Linked DNA regions of Homo sapiens: all the other regions are linked to region 1. The links are contacts of gene promoters, found by promoter capture Hi-C in blood cells and fetal thymus (Javierre and others, 2016). All regions are on one chromosome and are shown on one strand. The core of a region is centred on a gene start or on the middle of the fragment in contact, and the rest is flanking DNA. Distances in the headings are between cores, read along the strand shown.

Region 1 (3,330 bases), core at 505-3,004:
ATTATGAGTAGAAACAAGGAAACTATTAATACTCCAAGTGAGAGGTGATAAGGGTTTGGAATCAGAGTGGTAGCAATGAGGATGGAGATAAACGGATTGATTCAAGACATAGTTTGGAATCAGAAACAATAGAACTTACTGATCGGGTGTGTGAGACAGAGAGGATTCAAGGTTTCAGTTTGTGAAACCATTTACTCAGATGAAGAAAACTAGAGGAAGTTTGGGCTTTTTTGAATATGTCGTTTGAAGTGCAAAGCTAGGTGGGAATGTTGACTTTCAACTTAATGAAGTCTCTCTATAAGCTTGTGGGGAAGAAGAGGAATCACGTTCCGTGTCTCTGTTCTCCCAAAGCCTAACACCATGTCTCACACACATTATGCACGCAGTTTAAGTGTTTTTGAATGTTTTGAGGGTGGCTATTTGTTTTCAAGTTGAAACTCCTTGAAGACGGCAGTTCTGTACCTACACAAAAACTAAAAAAGGGGGCTTTGGCACCTTCTGAGATTTTGCTAATGCCTAGGTGAATGACTTCTATGTGATTACATAGGGCTTTAGCTGCACAATATTTGTGCAGTATTGAGATTCTCTCAAGTGAAGGTTACTTTTTTTCTTTTGAGTGTAATTGTATAAAGCTGGGCTCAAATGTTGTGAAAAAGATACATATACATATGGTTTACCATGAAAGGCTAGGATTCCAGGCACATTTACAACCACAAAGGCATGAGACCAATCAAGAATGTGCTGCACCCGGACGAAGAAGGCGCTAAGCGCCTCAAATCCAACAGTTGAAAGCCAACAACAAGCGGAAGAACTCTTTCAGAAAGACTCCAGCCTGGGTGAGAGGAGTGAGAACTTGTCAAAAAAAAAGAAAGAAAGAAGAAAAAGAGGTCTGAGAGGGGAAGGAGGAAAATCATTTTTATTTACTGAACATCTTTTAAAGATTTCACACCACAGAACTATGCCCTTTAATTCTTATAACGCTAAGAAAGCCCTTATTCATATTCACCACCCTTTTTACGGGAGACAAAAGCTCAGAGTATCTCGCTTTACCTCAAACTATTAAGAGCCAGAGCTATCGTCATACCGCAGGTCTCAGTCCTTGCCTCCCCCATTATCCACTAGCAAAAGTATTTACACTTAATTGCAAGCAACGAGTACAGAAAAACTGAAAGAAGGAATGGAAGAAAACGCCACATCCACTGCTAAAACCTTGGGTCAGAACACGTCCGCGAGGCTTTCCAGGGCCAAAGCCTTACTTAAATCTACCACGGTTGTCGCTTCCCCTCCAGTCCCTCACTTTTCATCCCACTCACTGACAAAGAAAAGAGGGGGTTCAGGCCGCGGTAATATAACCCAGCCTGGCGGTGGGTCTGAAGGGACAGAAGAGAAAGGTTCGCGACCCGCCCACACCCTTCTCTAGGTAGAAGTGACAACCAAGGAAGGATATGAGGAGTCGGGGCAGGACGGACGGCAGTTCCCGGCGGCATAGCTCCTCTGGCCAGCTACTTAATTCTTCCAGGGGAACCGCGCTAGCTGGGACCGCACCTTCCTGAGACATACTTTCGTCAAACAGGAGAGCTTCAAACCAGACCCGCCAAAGCCCAGACCGGAAACTCGCAGTCCCGCCAACCCTTGCGCGCTCTCCGCCGGCTCCAAAACCATAGAGAGGAGGGCGGCTGGTTTCTTGGTGAGCCCGGGTCCCTCAAGGCCGGAAAGAAAGTCGGGCTTCTCTAGCCCCTGGAGGACTCGACTCACTGGTGCGCGATTTAGGTCCGGAGGAGGCGTTGTGAGGTGAGCTTTTTCAGAAGCGCGATCCCAGGACACGTCGGGAAGCAAGCATCCCCAGGTCTGGATCACTGTAAACATTACATTCAAATGGGGAGGTGAGGGCCAGAAGTCCCCACTTCTGGGGTCGGATTTGTTCCGGGACCTGCAGCCGGAAGTGACTCCAAGCCTTGCAGCGTGATGGGAGAGGAAAGAGGCGCGTTCCTAGCCGCGGGACTGGGTGACCCGCCTCTCCCCCAAATTGTAAATCTTGTATAAAGGGAACAAAGATCCCACTTGCCAGAACTGTGAAAATTGAGGCAGATGGTATAGTGTCTAGCGCAGTAGATAGAAGATTCTCAATAAAGTTGCTTCTTATTTCTACAGGTCTCTCCAAACTACTGCAGTGCCCTAGTTTGCGTTTGCTCTGCCACCGAATTAGTCTTTACTAATTATTGCCAAATTACCCCCACTTCTATACACTTAGGGCTGCTGTTCTCGACTAAATGTTTGGAGTGAAGTCTTGGATGAATTTACACACACCAGGCCATACCTATGCATGTTTTTAAAGGGACGCTGACTTACCAAAATAAAATACTGCACCTCTTCTGTAAAAGACAGAAGTGAAGTTATTCTGGAAGCTTAGGGGGTGAATATGGTTGGACACAAATCAAGACAGCTGAAAGACAGCAAGTAGCTAGGCTGTCCTGTCTGAATATCTTGGACTTTATGTTTGTCCAGGTGGTAGTGGTGGTGGTTGCTGTTGTTCTTCTGTTTGTTTTTATAGTTGATTTTCTTCTCCCACTTTGGAACCCTTAAGGTGTGTATGAGTGTCCAAATCTCTTATCTCTCTCTCTTCCCCACAACTTTTTAAGAAAAAGCAGCTGTATGGTGGGACAGGGAGGGGTGGGGGTGGCTGTTTAATATTACACTTTAGTGAAATGTGCCATTTTGCTTTAATCATCATTTTCTTTCTTTTTTTTTTTTTTTTCTTTCCAGAGCTGCTTGGAAAGAGGACCAAAGACGTCTAAAAAGTCATTTGGAAATATCTCTAAATATTTGTTACCATGTATAAGCTGCTAAAGAGAAATTGGGCCCAACAAAACTAATTGAATAATTGAGGCAGATTTGTGTGTATCATCAAATTCTATCCAGAAGTTGAAGAATCTGAATTTAAAGATTGTGTGCATTTAATAAGAGGATGACCTTTCAGTTTAATTTCACTATAGAAGACCATCTGGAAAATGAATTAACACCCATTAGAGATGGAGCTTTGACCCTGGATTCCTCAAAAGAGCTGTCAGTCTCAGAAAGTCAAAAAGGAGAAGAGAGGGACAGAAAATGTTCTGCAGAACAATTTGACTTGCCTCAGGATCACTTGTGGGAACATAAGTCAATGGAAAATGCAGCTCCCTCTCAAGACACAGACAGTCCACTCAGTGCAGCCAGCAGTTCAAGGAACTTGGAGCCACATGGAAAACAGCCCTCCTTGAGAGCTGCCAAAGAGCATGCTATGCCTAAAGATTTAAAGAAGATGTTAGAAAATAAAGTCATAGAAACATTACC
Region 2 (3,330 bases), core at 262-2,761, 1.9 Mb before region 1:
ACTATTTTGCACCTTACTTTTCTCACCTTATAGCATCATAGAGGTATTCCATGTCAGCACATATAGATCTATCTAGTTCATTTTAATGGCTGCATACTATTCTATTGAATGGCTAGACTATGACTCATTTCAGCAATTTCCTATTGCTGAACATTTAGAGTTTTTTTTTTCACTCTGTTACAAAAATCCTGTAACAGATATTTTTATAGAATACTTTTATATACAACCTGTATACCCATGGGATAAATTTTAGAAGTAAAATTATTAGATCAAAAAGAACTTCATATAAAATTTTGATACATATAATTACCATGAAATTTTTAAAAATGCACCAATTTTTATACTCTTACTGTTTAAGAATGCTTGTTCCTCCCACGCTGCTCCCATACCACACATACACACACCCAATATTGTAGTATCAAATTTTTTTTATTTTTGCTATTGAGCTAACACAAAAGATCAAACTGTCAAATCAGGCTCAAATCAGAGATTTTACTCAGTATCAAGCTTTACTAATAGTTTCAAGGATACCAGTAATCCCCAGGTCCTTTCTTCTTGCTTTGGATGCATCCTGGCCCAGGACAGTAGATGTGGTTTCTAAATCAAGTGTACAGTCACCCCACTTACACAGAAGGAGCCAAATCAGTTACAAAACACTTCCATTTTATGCTACGTTACATAACTTCCGCGGTATTTTCCAGTTAATCATACCCCTGAAATCCGCATTGATTCTTTTTTGTTTTGTGAGAGGGAGTCTCATTCTGTTGACCAGGATGGAGGGCGGTGGCGCGATCTCTGCTCACTGCAACCTCCGCATCTCCAGTGCAAGCTATTCTTCTGCCTCAGCCTCCTGAGTAGCTGGTGTTACAAGTGTACACCACCACACTCAGCTAATTTTTGTAGTTTTGGTAGAGACGGGGTTTTGCCATGTTGGCCAGGCTGGTAACTCCTGACCTCAAGTGATCCACCTGCCTCAGCCTCCCAAAGTGCTGGAATTACCACATCGATTCTTAATGTGTTTACCATAAACAATCCCAGCCCTGGGACATCCTGTTAGAGGAATTCCGTAAATATGGACTCTCTTGCTAGCAAATGCCATTAGTTTGTTTGCCAGGAGGTCTGTAATTAGTATATACTTTATATTTTATAAAAATCACATGCTTTTTTGCTTGCTTTAACCTTGCTTTCCTGAGAGTATTTCCCTACGAAGGGAGAGACTGGATTGCAGATCTTCTGCTCAACTCCTTCTTTCTCAGTCACTGATAGATGAAAAATGGTATTTCCTTGTTCACTTTTACATTTTAAGTAATGTTGAACATTTAGCAACAAAATATTGAAAGCTAGAAGGGAGATGAATCAAGATGCAATTGCCTTAGCAGACTTGAAAAGTAGGAATCCCAAGCAGGCCATGAAGCAACCTGATACACACAGTGAAACCCTGTATAAGGCTCAGGAATTGGAAACACCACGTAAAGCTGAAGAGAGCATGATGTGAGCTATAAATACAGGCGGAATGGTATAAAGTCTGTTTAAGAATGAATCAGATGCTGAGATTCCCTTTGCTATCCCATCAAAAACCCAGAGATTTAGTCCTGAAAGACAGCAAAACGCTGATTCTCTAGCTAGGAGGACAGCAGGCCCTCTTAAGGATGAAGGTGTCATGTTGAAAAAGGGGAAAAGAAAATTAGAGGACTAACATCTGAATAACTGAAGCTCACTAAAAAGAAAATGGAGGAAATAAGTAACTCAAGTTGCTTGGAGTTCTGACTCTAAGCTCAGTGCTATTATAATCTTTTAGGCTTACTGGTATATTTGATTCATGTTAACTGTAAAATGACATTTTCTAAGTTTCACAAATATTGGGGTTAGTCAAAGGGACTTTGTTCAGGTGATTAAGGGTGGGGCTTGCATTACCCCTCTCCTAAGCGATCATTCCAAAATGACTGGCAGGACTAAAGAATTATGTTTAAAAAACAAAAAAACCCAAAGAATGGATTATCTGTAAAAGCTATGCAATGACGTGCCTGTTAGAGCTCACTGACCACACCTTAAGTTGTCTAAGAGATGAGGCTATAACTAGCTAAACTCTAATTGGCTAAGGCACCAAAGCCAGAAAATAGCCCATAACATGCAAATATACAGACATAAAATCAACTGTAAGTGCTGGGCACAGCTGCTCATGCCTGTAATCCCAGCTACTTGGGAGGCAGAGGCAGGAAGATCACTTTAGCTCAGGAGTTCAGAGCTGCTGTGCGCTATGATTGTGTCACTGCACTCCAGCCTGGGGGAAGAAGTGAGACTTCATCTCAAAAAAAAAAAAAAGATCAGCTGTAGAAGAAAAAATAATGTCAGGGTTACCTGTGGAGTCTGGGGGTAGACCCACTATCACACCTAGACAGGGATACAAACCATGAGAGGCTTCTCTTCTAAGTGGGCCGTTTCAGTCCAAGTTGCTGACTTGGACAGCAACTTGGACTGAATAAACACAGGCAACTGAGTTTAGCATTAAGCTTTCAGAACCTTCAACTGACAACTCAACGGCTGTTTCTAAATCTCAGAACATTTAAATCAGAATCTAGGTAGCACGTGGGCACCTACGTAGTTTTAAAAGCTTTCCAAGTGATTCAACTCCAAGTGAATCAGAGTGGAGCATCGTTGCCTTAGTCATGGCATCTTTCAAATTCGTTAGTACATTTTTACATAAAAATAAACATCAAACAAAAGAAGAACAACTTTTTGGTAAGAGGGTGTCTATTCTTTCCTTTCCTTTAGTGTCCGCAGATCTTTCCTCCTGCTGTTTTCTTGTCTACTCTTGTTCTTGAACACCCCCTCTTATTTTTATGTCTTTAGAAAGTGCCTGGCACAGTATTTCAGACAGTTAAAATACTGTATCAACAAAGGACCCATAGATACTGTATTAATTTTAAAAGATGTGTAGTGAATATGATTCAATGAGTAAAATAATCCAGCTGGGGCGTGGGAGGAACGGATAATAAAACAAATAAGAGAACGGAAAAACAAAATTAGGAATTGTTTCTGGTAGACAGCTACTGCGGGCGTGGAGATCTAAACATGATACCAAATTGGGCGGAGGGGGAGGGAGTGAGGAAGGAATGGGCAGAGTGGCGGAATGGCCTGGCGAGGGCGATTTCCTGAAGGCTTTCAGGTTACAACTAAGGGATACCGGGAAAAGAACACCGAGCCCTCGTCCCGTATCTATCTAAACTAGCCGTGTTAACTTTAAGTCAATCTCCTCTCTGAACCAGATATTCCTCCTATCTAAAGGGAGGAGCCTGGCCTTAACATCTCTTTCCAAGTCTAGCTCTAATT
Region 3 (3,330 bases), core at 291-2,790, 1.9 Mb after region 1:
CAGATTGTCAGTGAAGAATCTTAATGCCAGTCTAAGATATTAATATATGTCCATATATATTCTTAAGTGTATATTTAATATATTAAGTTTAAATACACTAAATATACATATATTATTTTTTAAAGTAATAACTTATTTAAAGTTAAGAGATAACTAAAATAGATGTAAGATTAGAATTTCAAATACAATTGTAAAATATTGGTGAAAAATAGAATATCTTCAAACAATCAGCTACCAAGAAGGTTGAATTATTCAATATTTATTGAGGGCCTATTGTATATTAGACACTGTTCTGGCACTCAGGATAAAGCAGTGGATAAAATAACGAAACCCACCCACACAGAGTTTGTATTCTCAGAAGAATTCATAAAAAGGAATATCAGCTGGGCGCGGTAGCTCACACCTGTAATCCCAGCACTTTGGGAGGCCGAGGCGTGTGGATCACCTGAAATCAGGAGTTCGAGACCAGCCTGGCCAACATGGTGATACCCTGTCTCTACTAAAAATACGAAATTTAGCTGGGCATGGTGGTGCACACCTGTAATCCCAGCTACTCTGGAGGGTGAGGCAGGAGAATTGCTTGAACCCAGAAGATGGAGGTTGCAGTGAGCCAAGATCGTGCCACTGCACTCAATCCAGCCTGGGCAACAGAGCAGATTATCATCCTTGATGCAGTTGTTCAACACTTAACATATTTTTTGTGTGCTATCCTGCTTTTAAACTAACTTTAAGAAATTAGAACTGTTTATGCAGATGTGCTAAAGGAGAAGAAAGCCCTAAGCTATAAATAGTTTATCATTTCCAGGTCATGTAAAAATATTAATTTTGCTTATAACAGAGAATGAAATATGTTTAAAGTGCTGTATGGTACAGTAGAAAGAGGACTAGGATCAAAGAAACTGTGTTCTAGTCGTTGCTCTATCCAGAACTCTCCTGAGTGTAAGACAAATTACTTAACTTGTAAGTGCCTCATCTTTTTCATTTATAAAAATGAGGGAGCTTGGACTTTCCTTAAAGTCTTTTCCAGCTAATAATCTATAATTTGGTATTCTCTTAGGACTTTTCTTACATTCAGAACCTTCAGGAAACTCAGATTTCATTGGGGAAAGTCATATAATTATTGTTAGATTAGGATTTAGGGATCTAGTTTTTTATCCTTGTTGGATTATTTATTTTAAACAAGTAATTTGTTTACTGGGCCTCATTTGCCTGATTTATGAGTGCCTACAGTAGATGATTTCAACAGTCTTTCTAAATCTAAAAGTAACTGATTCTTTGTACCTGAAGAAATAAGTAAATTTAAAACGTATCATCCCTACAATGCATCTTAGCTATTTTAGTCTCTTTACCTGTTCTTTACTCTGGAATTTCAAACCAAAGTGTATTTTCAGTCAACATTTTTAAAAACATTATCTACCCATGATGTTTTGGGTACTATTTTAGTGATAGCTATTTCCAAGGCATTGTGGAAAATATTAAAATTATATGGCTCTAAAATGGTAGCTTAGTCATGTTCTTAGTGTTAAATCAGAACTAGCTTTGGCACAAATAAAAATGAATGATTTTTTGGCCGTCAGTATCCATGTCAAAGATTAACCTTTACATATTCTAAGGATTTGTATCTAGTTTGTCACATGATAGCAAACAGGTGAACTTGTGTAATGTAAGGAATTAAGAGGGGTGTTAAAAAGTAACAAACCATAAAGGAGTGGCATGAAAGGGATGGGAAGAGGTAGGGAAATGTAGTGATTTTATGACCTCTTAGCATTCAGTAAGAAACTTTATTTTTCACAGAGGGATATAGTGAATACCTCAATCCAGTATTTGTAAGTGTGTATATGTGCTTGAGAGTAAAAATTACCTATTCTGTTCCAAAAAGTTAGTCTTTACTTAGGGAGGGAATCATATATACGATAGGTGGCCTACTTTCTGGGTAGGATTCATATAATATTTTATTAACAGTAATTTCTCTCAAATAAGGAAATTAGGAAGTAAGTTTATGTCAGTTTATTAATAGGTTCATTGAAGTTCAAGGCAACTAAATTTGTTTATTTGAAAATTTATGTCTGTTATTATTTGCTTATGATATTCACTTGTAGAATTTCTCAAATTCTATGAAAAGTTAGAATTTAAAAACATGAGTTTCACTTTAAAAATAAGGCAATAAAACACAAAATAACTTATAGTCAGTATTTTTCATTCTTGAACATAGTTCATAGTTTAAAATGTGTAGACTTTTTTTTTTCTTTTTTCGAGACGGAGTTTCGCTCTTATTGCCCAGGCTGGAGTGCAATGGTGCAATCTCGGCTCACTGCAACCTCTGCCTCCTGGGTTCTAGCGATTCCCCTGCCTCAACCTTCCCAAGTAGCTGGGATTACAGGCATGCACCACCACGCCCGGCTAATTTTGTATTTTTAGTAGAGATGGGGTTTCTCCATGTTGGTCAGGCTAGTCTCAAACTCCCCACCTCTGGTGATCCGCCCACCTCCGCCTCCCAAACGGCTGGGATTACAGGCATGAGCCACCACGCCCGGCCTAAATGTATAGACATTTTAAATACTTGTTTAATGTTTCTAAATTGTCAGCATTGGAGGCCTTCTTCAACATCCAGTAGTACTGTTCAAAGAAACAAGATGAAAATGTATTAATTCTTTTTCTAAAAGAATATATAGTATGTTTGATGTGGACAATTTCTTTCATCTTGGGCTATAAATTAATGTCTTATGAGGAGATTTTTCTTCAGTATATTTTCAGCAGTTCAAATTTTCCACCTAATCAAGTTATTTCATTTATCATAATGGATGTTAGCCAGGTATCTGTTAGTTTATACTTCTGCTTATTCTAATATTAAGGTATTATAATCACTTCACGTGTCATAATTATCTATTTTTATGCTCTCCTATGAGAATAGCTGTGTCATTGTACAGAACATAAGCCTGTGTTTTCCAGGTCTAGAATGACACATGTGACATTGTATTGTCACTATTTGAGTGATACCTATTTCTAAATGCTTTGTTTTGTCAAAACTTTATGTTTAGAAATGTTGAAGTAAGTTGGAATGTTTTTTCGCTACCATATCCACTGTTGATCAATTGCTGTTTTCTGGAAGACAGCCTCTGTATCTGTTTTATATATGTCTAAATTTACCTGTCTAGCTTTATTTGACATATTATTTACTCTTACAGGAAAAAAAAGCTAAGAAATGTTAATTGAATGTTAATTAGCTACAATGAAAGGGTTAAGTTTTCTTTAAAATTTTGTTAACCCATTGTGTGACTTTTTTTTTTTTTTTTCTGGAGTGCAGTGGTGCGATCTCGGCTCACTGCAAGC
Region 4 (3,330 bases), core at 489-2,988, 1.7 Mb before region 1:
CAATGTCCAGTAGGACATCCAGGGAGTTGGGAGTGGTAGGAAGCACAAAAGCAGATGGACTGAATCAGAGATTAGAGTTGCACCAGTAATCAGTAAACTAGTAAAGAAAAGCAAGGTGGATGAAGATACTGCCAGAATTTCTGGAGTAATGTTTTACTGAAGTCTAATCCAGACAGTGAAAGAAAATGGTTTGAATGCCTATGTTTCTTCCAAATTTCATGCTGAAACTTAACCCCCAATGCAACACTTTTAAGAGGTGGGGTCTTTAGGAGGTGATTGGGCCATGTGGGCTCTGCCCTCACAGATGTGATGTGTGCCTTATGAAAGGGCTGGAGGGAACTAGCTATGCACTTCTGTCATCTGAGGACATGAACAAGGTGCCATCTTGGAGGCGGAGATCCTGCCTGTCGATAACTTGATCTTGGACTTTCCAGCCTTCAGTACCAACAGAAATTAATTTCTGTTATTTATAAGTTACCCAGTCTCAGGCATTTTGTTACAGCAGCATGAATGGACTAAGAGAGGAAGTCAGAAGAGAATGAGGAGGAGAGCAGAAAGGACTGGTGATTTCAGTTAAGGTTGACTAAAAGCTCTAGCAATAAAATAGTAATTATTGGCAGGGCATAGTGGCTCATGCCTGTAATTCCAGGAATTTCGGAAGCCGAGGCGGAAGGATGGCTTGAGCTCAGGAGTTCAAGACCAGCCTGGGCAACACAGCAAGACTTTGTCTTTTCTTAAAAAAAAAAAAAAAAAAAAAAAATTAGCTGGGTATGGTGGCTCATGCCTGTAGTCCCAGCTACTTGGCAGGCCAAGATGGGAGGCTCACTGGAGCCTAGGAGGTTGAGGCTACAGTGAGCCATGATTGTGCCACTGCACTCCAGCCTGGGGGACAAAAGGAGACCTTGTATCCCCCCACTGCCCCACCAAAATCTGAGCTCCAAAGATATAGTATAACGTAAAAATACCCGATTAGGGCCACGCGCAGTGGCTTACACCTGTAATACCAGCACTTTGAAAGGCGAAGGTGGGAGGACCACTTGAGCCCAGGAGTTCAAGACCAATCTGGGTAACATGGTGAGACCTCATCTCTACAAAAAATAAAATTTAGCCAGGCCTGGTGGCACATGCCTGTCTCCCAGATGCTCAGGAGACTGAGACAGAAGGATCGCTTGAGCCTAGGAGGTTGAGGCTACAGTGAGCCATGACTGTGCCACTGTATTACAGCCTCGGCAATAGACAGAGTAAGACCCTGTCTCAAAATAAATAAATAAAAATAAAAATAAAAACCAGATTAGGACTAAGAAGGGCTTAAAGCCTAAATCACTGAAAATTACCAATGAAGAAGCAATCTTAGAGAAGTAAAGTAATTTGCTCAAAACACACAGAGCTGGAAAGTGGTAGAGTCAAGATTAAATCCAGGCTGACTTCAAAGCCAGTGCCCAACATAATCTCATTATTTAAAAAATCAGGATTGAACTTTCATTTTGAGAAATTAACAAACTGAAATATAAAACAATAAATGTCACTTAAGAGACCCTAAATGATTCATGTTTTCATTATCAAACATACTGCATTACAATATAGAATAAGATATCAAAGATAAAACACAATAGCAACAAAACATAGCAACATCTCTATTAACAAATGTATTGGTGGGGCATGGTGGCTCATGCTTGTAATCCCAGCACTCTGGGAGGCAGAGGTGGGAGGATAGCTTGAGCAATGGAGTTTGAGACCAGCCTGAGCAACATGGAGAGACCTTGTCTCTACCAAAAAAATAGCCAGGTGTGGTGGCACATGCGTGTGGTCCCAACCAGGAGATTGAAGCAGGAGGATCGCTTGAGCCTGGGAGGTTGAGGCTACAGTGAGCCAATGATTGCACCACTGCACTCTAGCCTGGGTAACAGAGTGAGACCTTGTCAAAACAAAACACACACACACACACACACACACACACACACACACACGCCCCAAATGTATCGATTTGCTGCTAGAAATGTCATTTTGTAATACAAGTAAGGAATAAGAGCTTGTGAAATAAATTTAAAGTTTCTGGTGATGACAGGGTTTAGACAGCAGCCATTAAAAACCAAGCACAGAGTGCATGTGTGTGCCTATGTGCATACTATACAGAAAATAATAAAGTAAATATGGTAAAATATTAACAAGTGGGGAATCTGAATGAAGGAATATGGTAATTCTTTGTATTATTTTTGTAACTTGTAAAAAACAAGAATCAGGCCAGGCGCAGTGGCTCACATCTGTAATCCTAGCACTCTGGGAGGCCAAGGCAGGTGGATCACTTGAGGTCAGGACTTCCAGACCAGCCTGGCCAACATGGCAAAATACCATCTCTACTAAAAATACAAAAATTAGCTGGGTGTGGTGGCGTGCACCTGTAGTCTCAGCTACTAGGGAGGCTGAGGCAAGAGAATCGCTTGCACCCGGGAGGCAGAGGCTGTAGTGAGCCAAGATAGCACCACTGTACTCCAGCCAGGGCAACAGGGGGAGACCCTGCAAAAAAAAAAAAAAAAAAAAAAAAGGCACAAAAATCAAAGCTCTAAAAATCGTAAAGGGGGCAGGGGTGCTGATGGACTGATGGGTGCCCCCCTGACATTCATATGTTGAATCCCTAAATCCCCTGGGCTGATATTTGGAGATGGGGCCTTGGTGAGGTAATTAGATTTAGATGAGGTTGTACGGGCCATGAGGGGATTAGTGTCCTTATAAAAAGAGATACCAGAGCTTGCTCTCTTCTCCATTAGAGAATACAGTCAGAAGGTGGCTGTGTGCAAGCTAGGAAGAGCCCTCACCAGAACTACTATGCTGGCACCCTGATCTCAGACTTCCAGCCTCCAAAACTGTCAGAAATAAATTTCTGTTTTTTAAGCCATCCAGTCTATACTATTTTGTTATGGCAGCCTGAACTATGATGAGGGGAGACTGATGCATTAACTTCAAAAACCAGAATTTTATCACTCAAATTTTAACTAAATTGCCCATTTAAAATAAAAAAGCCCAAATATTCACCACACTCCTAGTTCCAAGTGAATCAGCATCCACAAAATATAAACCTTAAAAAAATTTAGTCACTTCCTTCCCTCAATCCACTTGATTTTTTAAGACTACTGAAAGTACTAGTCATTTACATACTTCTCCTTAAATAAACTTAATACAAATGAGAATCACACAATGTTTGAAGTAGAAAATCATTTTATATTTAAAAGAATGTGGTCAATATGAAATAATTTGGCCTGGATATGTTGGACCCTGTCCTTTTCCATGTCAATAACTTGAATAAAGACTTGGAAAGTAAACATGGCATATGAA
Region 5 (3,330 bases), core at 243-2,742, 1.6 Mb after region 1:
CAGCACCCACCATGTGGCCATTGTCATAGTGGTCCCCAGCTTATGCTGTAATTAGTTCTCTCAGAGCACTCAGCTGGGTTATAGTGGATCATCTTGGAAATCAATAGAATTGTTTCTATTGATTTTTGTCTTTGATGTTATTTTTTGGCAAAGTTTTCATTACATAAACATTTTAATGCTCTGTCATATATATATGTATATATATGTATATATATATACATATATATATATATATATATATATAATACATGTACACATTGTCAGGATAGATTTAAGTGTATGGCATGCAAAGTGGCAAAAAGAGCTGATGGGGCCAGTCGCAGTGGCTCATGCCTGTAATCCCAGCACTTTGGGAGGCCAATGTGGGCAGATCACCTGAGGTCAGGAGTTCAAGACCAGCCTGGCCAACATGGCAAAACCCCGTTTCAACTAAAAATACAAAAAAAAAAAAAAAATTAGCCGGGTGTGGTGGTGCATGCCTATAGTCCCAGCTACTTCGGAGGCTGAGGCACAAATATCGCTTGAACCCTGGAGGCAGAGGTTGCAGGGAGCCGGGATTGCGCCACTGCACTCCAGCCTGGGCAACAGAGCGAGACTCTGTCTCATACAAAAATTAAAAAAAAAACCCAGCTAATGGAACATGAGTAAATAGGTTTATTTGAGAATCATTTATAAAGGGAAACAGCTGCACTATATCATGTTACCATAATTAGTGTTAACTATTGAAGTAACTGTGTCCACTTTATAGAAAACTGGTGTTGTTGGTGGCAGGTGCCTGTAGTCCCAGCTACTGGGGAGACTGAGGCAGGAGAATGGCGTGAACCCAGGAGGCGGAGAGCTTGTAGTGTGAGCTGAGATCGCGCCACTGCGCTCCAGCCTGGGCGACAGAGCAAGACTCTGTCTCAAACAAACAAAAAAAGAAAACTGGTGTTGTTTTAGTGTAAATGGGCATTCATTCGGGTACTCAGGAAAATATAAACATATAAAAGAGCTTGATTCAAATGTTACTTTTAAGGTTGTGAGAAAATCACTAGATAATTTCTTGTAAGACATTAGACCAGGGGTGTCCAATCTTTTGACTTCCCTGGGCCACATTAGAAGAAGAATTGTCTTGGGCCACACATAAAATACACTAATGATAGCTGATGAGCAAAAAAAAAAAAAAAAATCTGTGCATAAGTCTCATAATGTAATGTTTTAAGAAAGTTTATGAATTTGTGTTGGGCTGCATTCAGAGCCATCCTGGCTCATCCACATGTGGCCTGAGTGCCATGGGTTGGACAAGCTTGCATTAGACATTTAAAAATGTCTTTCATAGCAATAAACTTTAGTACAGGATAGATTTTTGTATGTGTGTACTTTAATTGAGGTTACCAAAATGCCAAGCTATAAAACTTTAGGAGATGAGCAAAATATCACTACGGGAATTATTTCATCCTAATTTCTGAAGATAGAAATGAAGCAGGTGAACCAGAAATTTCTAAGATAGCTACCAGGGAAACAAAGAATAAAACAAAACCAAGCAGAACTATAATAGGAATTCATGCTCTTTCTGTCCAGCAATGTTGTATGGTCAAAATATTTTTCTTTCTTTTCCCTGCTTATTTTGGGAAGGAGAAAAAGGGTAAAAGAAACTGAAGCAGTTTACATGCAAGGAATTTGAATGGGCAAACACAGTCTTTCTGAAATCATAAGCTTAAGTTCAACCCCTGGTGATAGGAACGAGCTGGTAGAGGGAGGATAAAGGAAGATGAGGGCTGAGATCTAAGTGGATTCCCAAGTGGTGTCAGGCCTCTCTCCTGGTGAGCAAAAGCAGGAGGCTGTTATTGCCGAAGTTAGCTGTGGGCCTGGAAGCAGAGGCCTATCACTGCAGTGTGAGTTCCATGACTGATAGGGAAAGGAATGGAAGGGAAAGAAGGGGAAGGAAAGGTCCCAAGGAAAAGGTCCCAATGGGGTATTGCTATCATGGGATGAGATCAATCAGAGCAAGCTGAGCAGAGAAGAAAAAATTAGGCTTTGGCAAGTGGATTCTTCACTTGAAATGGGAAAAGTTGGCTGTGGCTCACTCCTGTAATCCCAGCAATTTGGGAGGTGGAGGCGGACCGATCACTTGAGGTTAGGAGTTTGAGACCAGCCTGGCCAACATGGTAAAACCCCATCTCTACTAAAAATACAAAAGTTAGCTAGGCACGGTGGTGTGCGCCTGTAATCCCAGCTACTTGGGAGGCCAAGACAGGAGAAAATCCAAGCTACTTGGGAGGCTGAGACAGGAGAATCACTTGAACCTGGCAGGCAGAGGTTGCAGTGAGCTGAGATTGCATCATTGCACTCCAGCCTGGGTGACAGAGTGAGACTCCGTCTCAAAAAAGAAAAAAAAAAAAAAGAAATGGGAAAAGTCTAAACAGGTGTGATGGTTAATACTGAGTATCAACTTGATTGGATTGAAGGATGCAAAGTATTGCCCTGGGTGTGTCTGTGAGGGTGTTGCTAAGGGAGATTAACATTTGAGTCAGTGGGCTGGGAAAGGCAAACCCACCCTTAATCTGGGTGGGCAGAATATAAAGCGGGCAGAAAAACGTGGAAAGACTACACCGGCCTAGCCTCCCAGCCTACATCTTTCTCCCATGCTGGATGCTTCCTGCCCTCAAACATCAGATTCCAAGTTCCTCAGTTTTGGGACTCAGACTGGCTCTCCTTGCTTCTCAGCTTGCAGATGGCCTATTGTGGGACCTTGTGATCATGTGAGTTAATACCTAATAAACTCCTATATATATATCTATATATATATATATATATCTCTCTAGAGATATATATAGATATATATATATCCCAGCATATATATTCATATATATCTATATATCCCAGCATATATATATATCCCACACACACACATATATGTGTGTGTGTGTGTGTGTGTGTGTGTGTATATATCCTATTAGTTCTGTCCCTCTAGAGAACCATGACTAATACAATAGGGGAGGGATTTAAGTGGCTAAGCACCAGGGATATGGAGTTAGGCTGCCTAGGTTCAAATCTTGGCTCTCCATTTGCTCATTGTGATGTGACCTCTGCCAAGCCTCACTTTTTTCATTTTTCTCATTATTATTTCTAGTAATAGCATACCTCATAGTATTGTTAGGAAGATTAAATGAGATATACACAAGTCCCTAACATAGTGCCTCTCAAAGGTGCTCACTCAATACACTATCCATTAGTATTATAGAGTAGCAGCAGTGGCCTTGTGCATTCACAGTGACGCTGTTTCTCAAAGTGTGGTGCTGGAGCTGCACGTACGTTAGAATCATCTGGAATGTTTGACAAAAATCAGAT
Region 6 (3,330 bases), core at 458-2,957, 1.6 Mb after region 1:
GCCACCAGGCCTGGCTAATTTTTACATTTTTAGTAGAGGTGCGGTCTCACTATGTTGGCCAAGCTGGTCTCGAACTCCTGACCTCAAGTAATCTGCCCTCCTTGGCCTCGCAAAGTGCTGGGATTACAGGCGTGAGCCATTGAGCCCAGCCCAGATTTGCTTCCTTTCAGTCATACTATAAGATTTCAAAATGCAGCTAACTTCACAATATAAGACCTACCAATTCCATCTTCCTAGCGTTATTTACCATGAATCTCTCTCTTTTTTTTTTTTTTTTTTTTTTTTTTTTTGAGACGGAGTCTCGCTCTGTCGCCCAGGCTGGAGTGCAGTAGTGTGATCTCAGCTCACTGCAACCTCTGCCTCCCGGGTTCAAGCAATTCTCCTGCCTCAGCCTCCCGAGTAGCTGGGACTACAGGCATGCTCCACCATGCCTGGCTAAATTTTGTATTTTTAGTAGAGATGGGGTTTCACCATGTTGACCAGGCTGGTGTTGAACTCCTGACTTCATGATCCACCCACTTTGGCCTCCCAAAGTGCTGGGATTACAGGCGTGAGCCACTGCACCTGGCCGAATCTCTTCTTTTTTTTTTTTTTTGAGACAGAGTCTCACTCTGTCACCCAGGCTGGAGTGCAGTGGCGCGATCTTGGCCCACTGCAACCTCCACCTCCCGGGTTCAAGCAATTCTCCTCCCTCAGCCTCCTGAGTAGCTGGTATTACAGGTGTGCGCCACCACACCCAGCTAATTTTTTTTTTTTAATAGACAAGGGGTTTCACCATGTTGGTCAGGCTAGTCTCGAGCTCCTGACCTCGTGATCTGCCTGCCTCGGCCTCTCAAAGTGCTGGGATTACAGGCGTGAGCCACTGCGCCTGGCCCCAATCTCTTCTCAAGCAGGGCTTACACACACAGGACTTAATACTAATATAGAGCTTTAGAATTTATTGAGAGCTTCCCATAAATTATTTCACATCAAAACTCTGCTTTGAGGTAGATATTTCTGTTTACCCAATTTATTGATAAAACTGAGACTCAAATTAAGTAACTTCCTAAAGTCATTTCAGGTTCATACTCAGGGCAGACAGGGCATAAACCTACTTTGTCTAACCAGAAGTTCTTTTTGCTCATATATTTGTTCATCTATAAACTTGTGAGCTACAAGCTAGCAGGTTCTGTCTAAATCATGTAATACATTACCAAGGCCCGAAACACATTTTAATGTTTCTTGATAGTGATAATGATAACAACAAGGCCGTCTGCCGTTGCCACCAACTACACTTTTAAAAATAAATTTTTCCACTAATGCCGTCTTTTATTTTCTACTGATAAGTCAACAAGCAAAACCCCCTCACATTAGGTTCTGAGGAATGCCACAACAGAAAACAAGGACGATAAAAATAGTTGCAAAAAATAACCCGTTACTAGAAAGTTCTAATGCTCAGACTGTCCAAGACAATCAATGACTCATGAAAGAAAAAAGTAAGATTTACCTTTAACTTAAGAGATTCTCCAAGTAAGGTTCCCTTATAATCTGTTGTATAGGTCCAATCATATGGTTTAATAACCTCTTTGGAGTGTTCACCCTCCGTCCTCAAATACCAAAATGAGAAGGATCAGATTCAGTGATGCAGAATAGAGATTATCTGTATTTATATATCACATCAAATTATATTCTATAATAACATATCCTATTAAATATATACACTTGTTATAATTCACCAGTACAAGGTTTTTCTTACAGTTTTTCTGCATTTATTATTTAACTTGTCATGTACTGATGTAGTCTTTTCAATTAGTCTGTATACAGCCTGAGGACATGGTTTAAAGGTTTATACTTATTTGTATCATCTAAGGTACTTAGTACATATTAGGCACAAAGTAAATAATTGCTGATTTGACTATCAAAGAAAAACATGTTGTCTTAATTTCAATGCTTCTCAAATAGGGTATTTATTAAGCATATCATAAGTAAACATTTTTTCTTAAAAACAGGAACATTAAGTATAGCCTACTGCCTCTTCAGTAAGGAACACTGAAAAATCGAAAACGTACATAGCTCAGCTCAGTTGTAATTCACTTTAACAAGTATTCAAGCAGTGGGGTAATTAACTTCCATTTTTATGTCTGAGAAAAACGAATTCTAGAATGATACAACTCTCAAGTTTAATAATACCAGCCCTTCATTCTAACAACACACACGTATCATTACTGAATATTTTTTCAAGTCTTTTCTCTTTTGTTTAACCTAATTACCTTTTTTGTTTAACCTAATTGACCGGATTCTCACCTGCTTTCTTGCCACTCTTCAGCACAGGCCACTTTAAGCATTCCTTGGTAGTTGTTTACACATCTTAACGCATCTGTAGCATTGAACTCAATTCCAAAGCCAGACCCATGCTGGATTCTTAAAACGTTGTCTCCAAACATCATTTCAGGGAGAGATGGCATATGTAATTCATCGGCTAATCTATACGTAACCAAAAGTCGGGTGAGATAATTTTATATCGCTGTTGGCATTTTTGTTTCTTTTCCATCCCAACAGAATTCTTCCTACTTGCTGAATGAGTTACACAGCACATGATTTAATCAATATGATATATTTGCAAGGTCTATAAAATGCTTTCATCATCCATTCTTTCATCATCATATGGCACTGTACTAAGTAGTGGGCTAAATAAGATAAATATACAAATACGTAATATAATAGCTTATTATACTACTATAATATATAGCACACAGATATTACTATAATATATATCATGAGGGTATGAAGAAAAGATAGCAAAGCAATTAAAGATACTGTCTCTTGTAGGAAAATAATTTTTCCATTAAAATTCTCAATTGTTAAAAGTTTCAAAACGTGGTGATGAAAAAAGCAAAAGCACCTGACACTGATGAGGGAACTCAGCACTTGCCTACACAGACTTTCAGAAGGATTGTGTCAATTTACATTTCACCCTGGGGCAACAATCAAGCAAAAAAAAAAAAAAATCACAGGAATTTAACATAATTTACACACTTATGACCCAAAGTATCAGTTTTAGAATACCTGTACTAAAGAATAATTCCAAGTACAGAAAAATATTATACACATTAATACTTATAATGGCTTTACTTATAATCATGAAAAAGAAATACTCTGAATGTTTCATTATAAAGCAACAAATGATTATGCAAACCAAAGTATATCCATATGATGAAATATTATGGAACCATTACAAATGTTTAAAGAGAGACTATAATAATATGAAAAAATGCTTATGATAAAATAGTAAGAAAAAAACTGGACACACATTGTATATTTATTACATCTAAACGTGTATTTCTGTGTGCA
Region 7 (3,330 bases), core at 568-3,067, 1.6 Mb after region 1:
GAATCATGCAATCAATCATTTAATTAACATCCCCCATTTCCAGCCAGACACAGAGCTAAGTTTGGGTACAACTGGGGACAAGATACACGTGCAGCCCTTATCAAGTGGCTTACAGATCTAACAAGTCAGTGTAATAAAATGCTACCTGCACTGGCACATAAATATAGATGTGATACTGAGAGTCCAAAGGAAGAGGTCATCAATTCTGGAGAGGAGGAGGTAATCAGGAAAAGCTTCATAGAAGAGGTAGCTTTTGAGCCAGGTCTTAACAAATGAGCAAGTATCTACCAAACCAGGGGAGGTACAGATAGGGCAGCATTCCAGGCACAGAAAACAACCAAACAAGGGCACAACGGCATTTTGGGAAATGCAAGAAGTTCAGCCTGGCTGGGAAGCACACTGGATAGGGAATGGGACAACGGTGAAGCCAGATCTCAAAGACGCTTGACTGTATGCGTGCTGAGGAATTTGGACTTCATTTGTACAGACAAAACAGGGGGCCACTTGAGGGGGCTAAGCAGGGCTATAAACGAATGGCTCTACAGCTCAGTGGAAAATGGCCTTGAGAGGGGCAATGGAGGAGACAGAGAGACCAAGCAGATGCATCTTGCTCAGGTAAGGGTGATAACAGGCCAAAGCTAAGGCCAGCTCAGATATCACCTTCTCTAGGAAGCCCTCCCTGACTCAGGTCGTGTCGGCTGCCCCTCCTTGAGAATTTCTTTCCATATCTTGTTATATCATGAGTTATATGTCTGTCTGCCTGGCAGGGACCAAACTGGACTTGTCTTTGTATCCTCTGAGCCCAGCACAGAGTGTGATCAATGCTTACCCATTGAGCATGCAAGTCAGTCAGTGAAGCACAAACAGCCATGGGGACAAAGAGGAAGGAGCCAGTAAGACAGGGTTACATCAAGCCCTGGTGAGGAATCATGGAGGGGAGACTTGGACCCCCAGGACTCTGAAGCCATTTACAGAGACACAAGGGAAGGGAAAAGGGGGAAACAAGATGACTGAGCTCAGGTTCCTGCAGGTCATTCAGGTAGAGGCCAGGCCAGTGCTCCCAGTTGGAGAGGGTGGAGTTGTTGGCACCAGTGTGACTGAAGCATCAGTGTGAATGAGCTTGACCTGGAAAATGTGTGCATCCACAACATGCAGAATGGGCTGCCCACCTCCAGGAAGCGCTCAGATGCCCTGCCCACATGAGCTGCTACTCAGGTCTGGGAAGGTCTGACACTAAATAAAAACCAGTTTCCCTTATGGCCACTGGAGTGATGAGCCCTTTGAAAACCATCAACTCAATCTCTGACAGCAGTAAGAATACAGCAAGCAGGAGGACTGGGTTGTAAACCCTGGAGAAATCACTGAACTGCTTTGTGTCGCAGTTTCTGTACATGTAAAATCACGATGGCAAAACATTTGCTGCTTTCTCCCAGGTGTTTCAAACTAAGATATAAAATGTTTTCAAATAATAAGATATGAATGTGAGATATTCTAACTACTTCTCTCCAAATTCCTTACAACTACTGGAGCCTCCTCTTTCACCTCCCTCAAGGGCAACCAACATCCATTTTCCCATCTAATGATTGGCTAAAATTGGATTTTTAAAAAACAGTTACCTCCCAATTGATGCGATATTACCAAAGGTATAAAACACTGCGAAGAGGTGTAGTCCCTTCCTGGGCACCCACAGCAGAACAGTACCCTGGAATTTAAAGTACAGTGTTTGCACATGAGCAACCCTCCCACCCGGCCACACAAGCAGAGCTCCCAGAGGAAGCCCTGAGGAGTCCGTTTCCCTCCCCACCTCCCTTATTCCCCTCTCCTCTCATCCATGCATTTTAGTGAAGGGCAAAAGGGGAAAGGAGGTGGACAAAAGGGGGAATATATAGCAAAGACAGGTAGAAGGAAAAGACAGAGGAGGAAGGGAAATCTTACCAGCAGTGAGCAGAGAATTCCTATAGCAAAACACGCAATGAAGCCTTTTATCCTGGTACTCCAGCTTAATGAAGATGCCTCAACAACCTAAAATTGAAAAAAAAAAAATACATATACACACACATTTACTAAAAACAAAGCAAGCACATAACTAAATCTAGAAAGTGTTAAGTTGTATTAGGGAAGGCAAGGAGCACAGAATCCTACACACTCAGGCGATGTAAGTCATCAAATCCAGACTTTATCAGAGCTGTAAAGTTATTATGCAGACATGAATCTCCTCTCTAGCAGCTGACAGCTGTGCCTCCAGCTGAACATCTTCAGAGGTAGAAACTCCTTGCCTCAAGCACAACCCATTTCAAGAACAGGAAGGCAAGACAGCCAATCCTAGAGTAGCCCAGAGCCTTCCTACAACCCAGGCAGGATGAAGACCACACCTGGAAAGGCATGCGTCCACCAGGGACTCACAAGTCCACCTGGGATCCTCCACCAGGCAGGGTCCCAGGAAATAAGGAAAAGATGAGGGGACGGCACTCAAGCAGCTGCTCCACTGGTCATCGTCTCCTACATCAACTCTCACCCACATTATTCACTCTTGGTTCAGATATTGTACTTACAGGATGCTGGCATCAGCCAACTCATCCAAGTGGGAGACAGATCCTGGTTAATTAATTACTGTCCTGTTACATCCTGAGTCTTTGCCATCATGATTAATCCCTCCCTGGAGCAAAGTTCAGGGGAAGCCAGGAGTTCCAAAAACACTACTGAAACAGGAGAGCCTGTGAGTAGCTCCCAGTGGTTCTTTTCCCATGTCAAAAATGACAACAGCCAGGCACAGTGGCTCATGCCTGTAATCCCAGCACCTTGGGAGACCAAGGTGGGCGCATCACCTGAGGTCAGGAGTTCGAGACCAGCCTGACCAACATGGCGAAACCTTGTCTCTACTAAAAATACAAAAAATTAGCCAGGTGTGGTGGTGCATGCCTGTAATCCCTGCTACTTGGAAGGCTGAGGCAGGAGAATTGCTTGAACCTGGGAGGTGGAGGTTGCAGTGAGCCGAGATCATACATTGTACTCCAGCCTGGGCAACAAGAGTGTAACTCTGTCTCGGAAAAAAATGACATCAAAGTTTTTGCACTGGTGACCCTACCAGTCTGTCCACCTGATGCAAGTGGGAACAGTTGTTCCAAGCTGGACAAAGACAGCTGCCGTAAGAGACCAACACCACACAGGGCAGCTAGGCCATGTATATTCACACAGGGCTCACCTTGTATGGCCAGCATAGTCTCCATCTAGCAATGTGGTCAAAGTTTCCTACTATATTTCCACCCAGCTGATGGAAGAAGGTAGGTAGTGGCAGAAAGTCAAGAGTCATTAGACTGGCAACTCCGTCAG

Evidence for each region. Contacts are between HindIII fragments. The CHiCAGO score rates a contact against its expected background, and 5 or more counts as called.
Region 2: a fragment that was not itself captured here is called in contact with the fragment with the promoter of METTL18 in region 1 in 1 of 17 cell types (non-activated CD4 T cells); the score reaches 6.6 in non-activated CD4 T cells.
Region 3: a contact is called between a fragment that was not itself captured here and the fragment with the promoter of METTL18 in region 1, in 2 of 17 cell types (total CD8 T cells and naive CD8 T cells). The highest score is 5.2, in total CD8 T cells.
Region 4: a fragment that was not itself captured here is called in contact with the fragment with the promoter of METTL18 in region 1 in 2 of 17 cell types (non-activated CD4 T cells and total CD4 T cells); the score reaches 5.4 in non-activated CD4 T cells.
Region 5: a fragment that was not itself captured here is called in contact with the fragment with the promoter of METTL18 in region 1 in 1 of 17 cell types (total CD8 T cells); the score reaches 5.8 in total CD8 T cells.
Region 6: a fragment that was not itself captured here is called in contact with the fragment with the promoter of METTL18 in region 1 in 1 of 17 cell types (naive CD8 T cells); the score reaches 5.3 in naive CD8 T cells.
Region 7: a fragment that was not itself captured here is called in contact with the fragment with the promoter of METTL18 in region 1 in 3 of 17 cell types (naive CD8 T cells, total CD8 T cells and non-activated CD4 T cells); the score reaches 6.4 in naive CD8 T cells.

The regions. Positions count from the first base shown.
Region 1 is chr1:169,793,331-169,796,660 of GRCh38, reverse strand. METTL18 (methyltransferase 18, RPL3 N3(tau)-histidine) reads left to right here and starts at 1,754. Exons shown (of 2, transcript NM_033418.4): 1 at 1,754-1,846; 2 at 2,764-3,330. The coding sequence starts at 2,966. It overlaps FIRRM (FIGNL1 interacting regulator of recombination and mitosis), which reads right to left and starts at 1,621. Exons shown (of 25, transcript NM_001320047.2): 1 at 1,546-1,621; 2 at 678-832. RefSeq lists an enhancer at 1,702-2,021. The HindIII fragment of the contact is 2,103 bases long and covers 305-2,407 here.
Region 2 is chr1:171,742,518-171,745,847 of GRCh38, reverse strand. No RefSeq gene overlaps it. Among named protein-coding and RNA genes, the nearest start is that of VAMP4, 2.1 kb to the right of the region's middle. The HindIII fragment of the contact is 2,003 bases long and covers 510-2,512 here.
Region 3 is chr1:167,928,283-167,931,612 of GRCh38, reverse strand. The region is part of intron 2 of MPC2 (mitochondrial pyruvate carrier 2); the gene reads left to right. It also overlaps a transcript of DCAF6 not described here. Among named protein-coding and RNA genes, the nearest start is that of DCAF6, 6.7 kb to the left of the region's middle. The HindIII fragment of the contact is 4,869 bases long and covers 1-3,330 here.
Region 4 is chr1:171,495,412-171,498,741 of GRCh38, reverse strand. All of the region lies in intron 1 of PRRC2C (proline rich coiled-coil 2C), which reads right to left. Among named protein-coding and RNA genes, the nearest start is that of PRRC2C, 12 kb to the right of the region's middle. The HindIII fragment of the contact is 4,223 bases long and covers 1-3,330 here.
Region 5 is chr1:168,166,474-168,169,803 of GRCh38, reverse strand. No RefSeq gene overlaps it. Among named protein-coding and RNA genes, the nearest start is that of TIPRL, 11 kb to the left of the region's middle. The HindIII fragment of the contact is 410 bases long and covers 1,288-1,697 here.
Region 6 is chr1:168,183,035-168,186,364 of GRCh38, reverse strand. It overlaps TIPRL (TOR signaling pathway regulator), which reads right to left. Exons shown (of 7, transcript NM_152902.5): 2 at 2,284-2,463; 3 at 1,487-1,586. Among named protein-coding and RNA genes, the nearest start is that of TIPRL, 5.7 kb to the right of the region's middle. The HindIII fragment of the contact is 4,693 bases long and covers 1-3,330 here.
Region 7 is chr1:168,230,206-168,233,535 of GRCh38, reverse strand. SFT2D2 (SFT2 domain containing 2) reads right to left here. Exons shown (of 8, transcript NM_199344.3): 2 at 1,936-2,022; 3 at 1,617-1,702. Among named protein-coding and RNA genes, the nearest start is that of SFT2D2, 5.9 kb to the right of the region's middle. The HindIII fragment of the contact is 3,164 bases long and covers 236-3,330 here.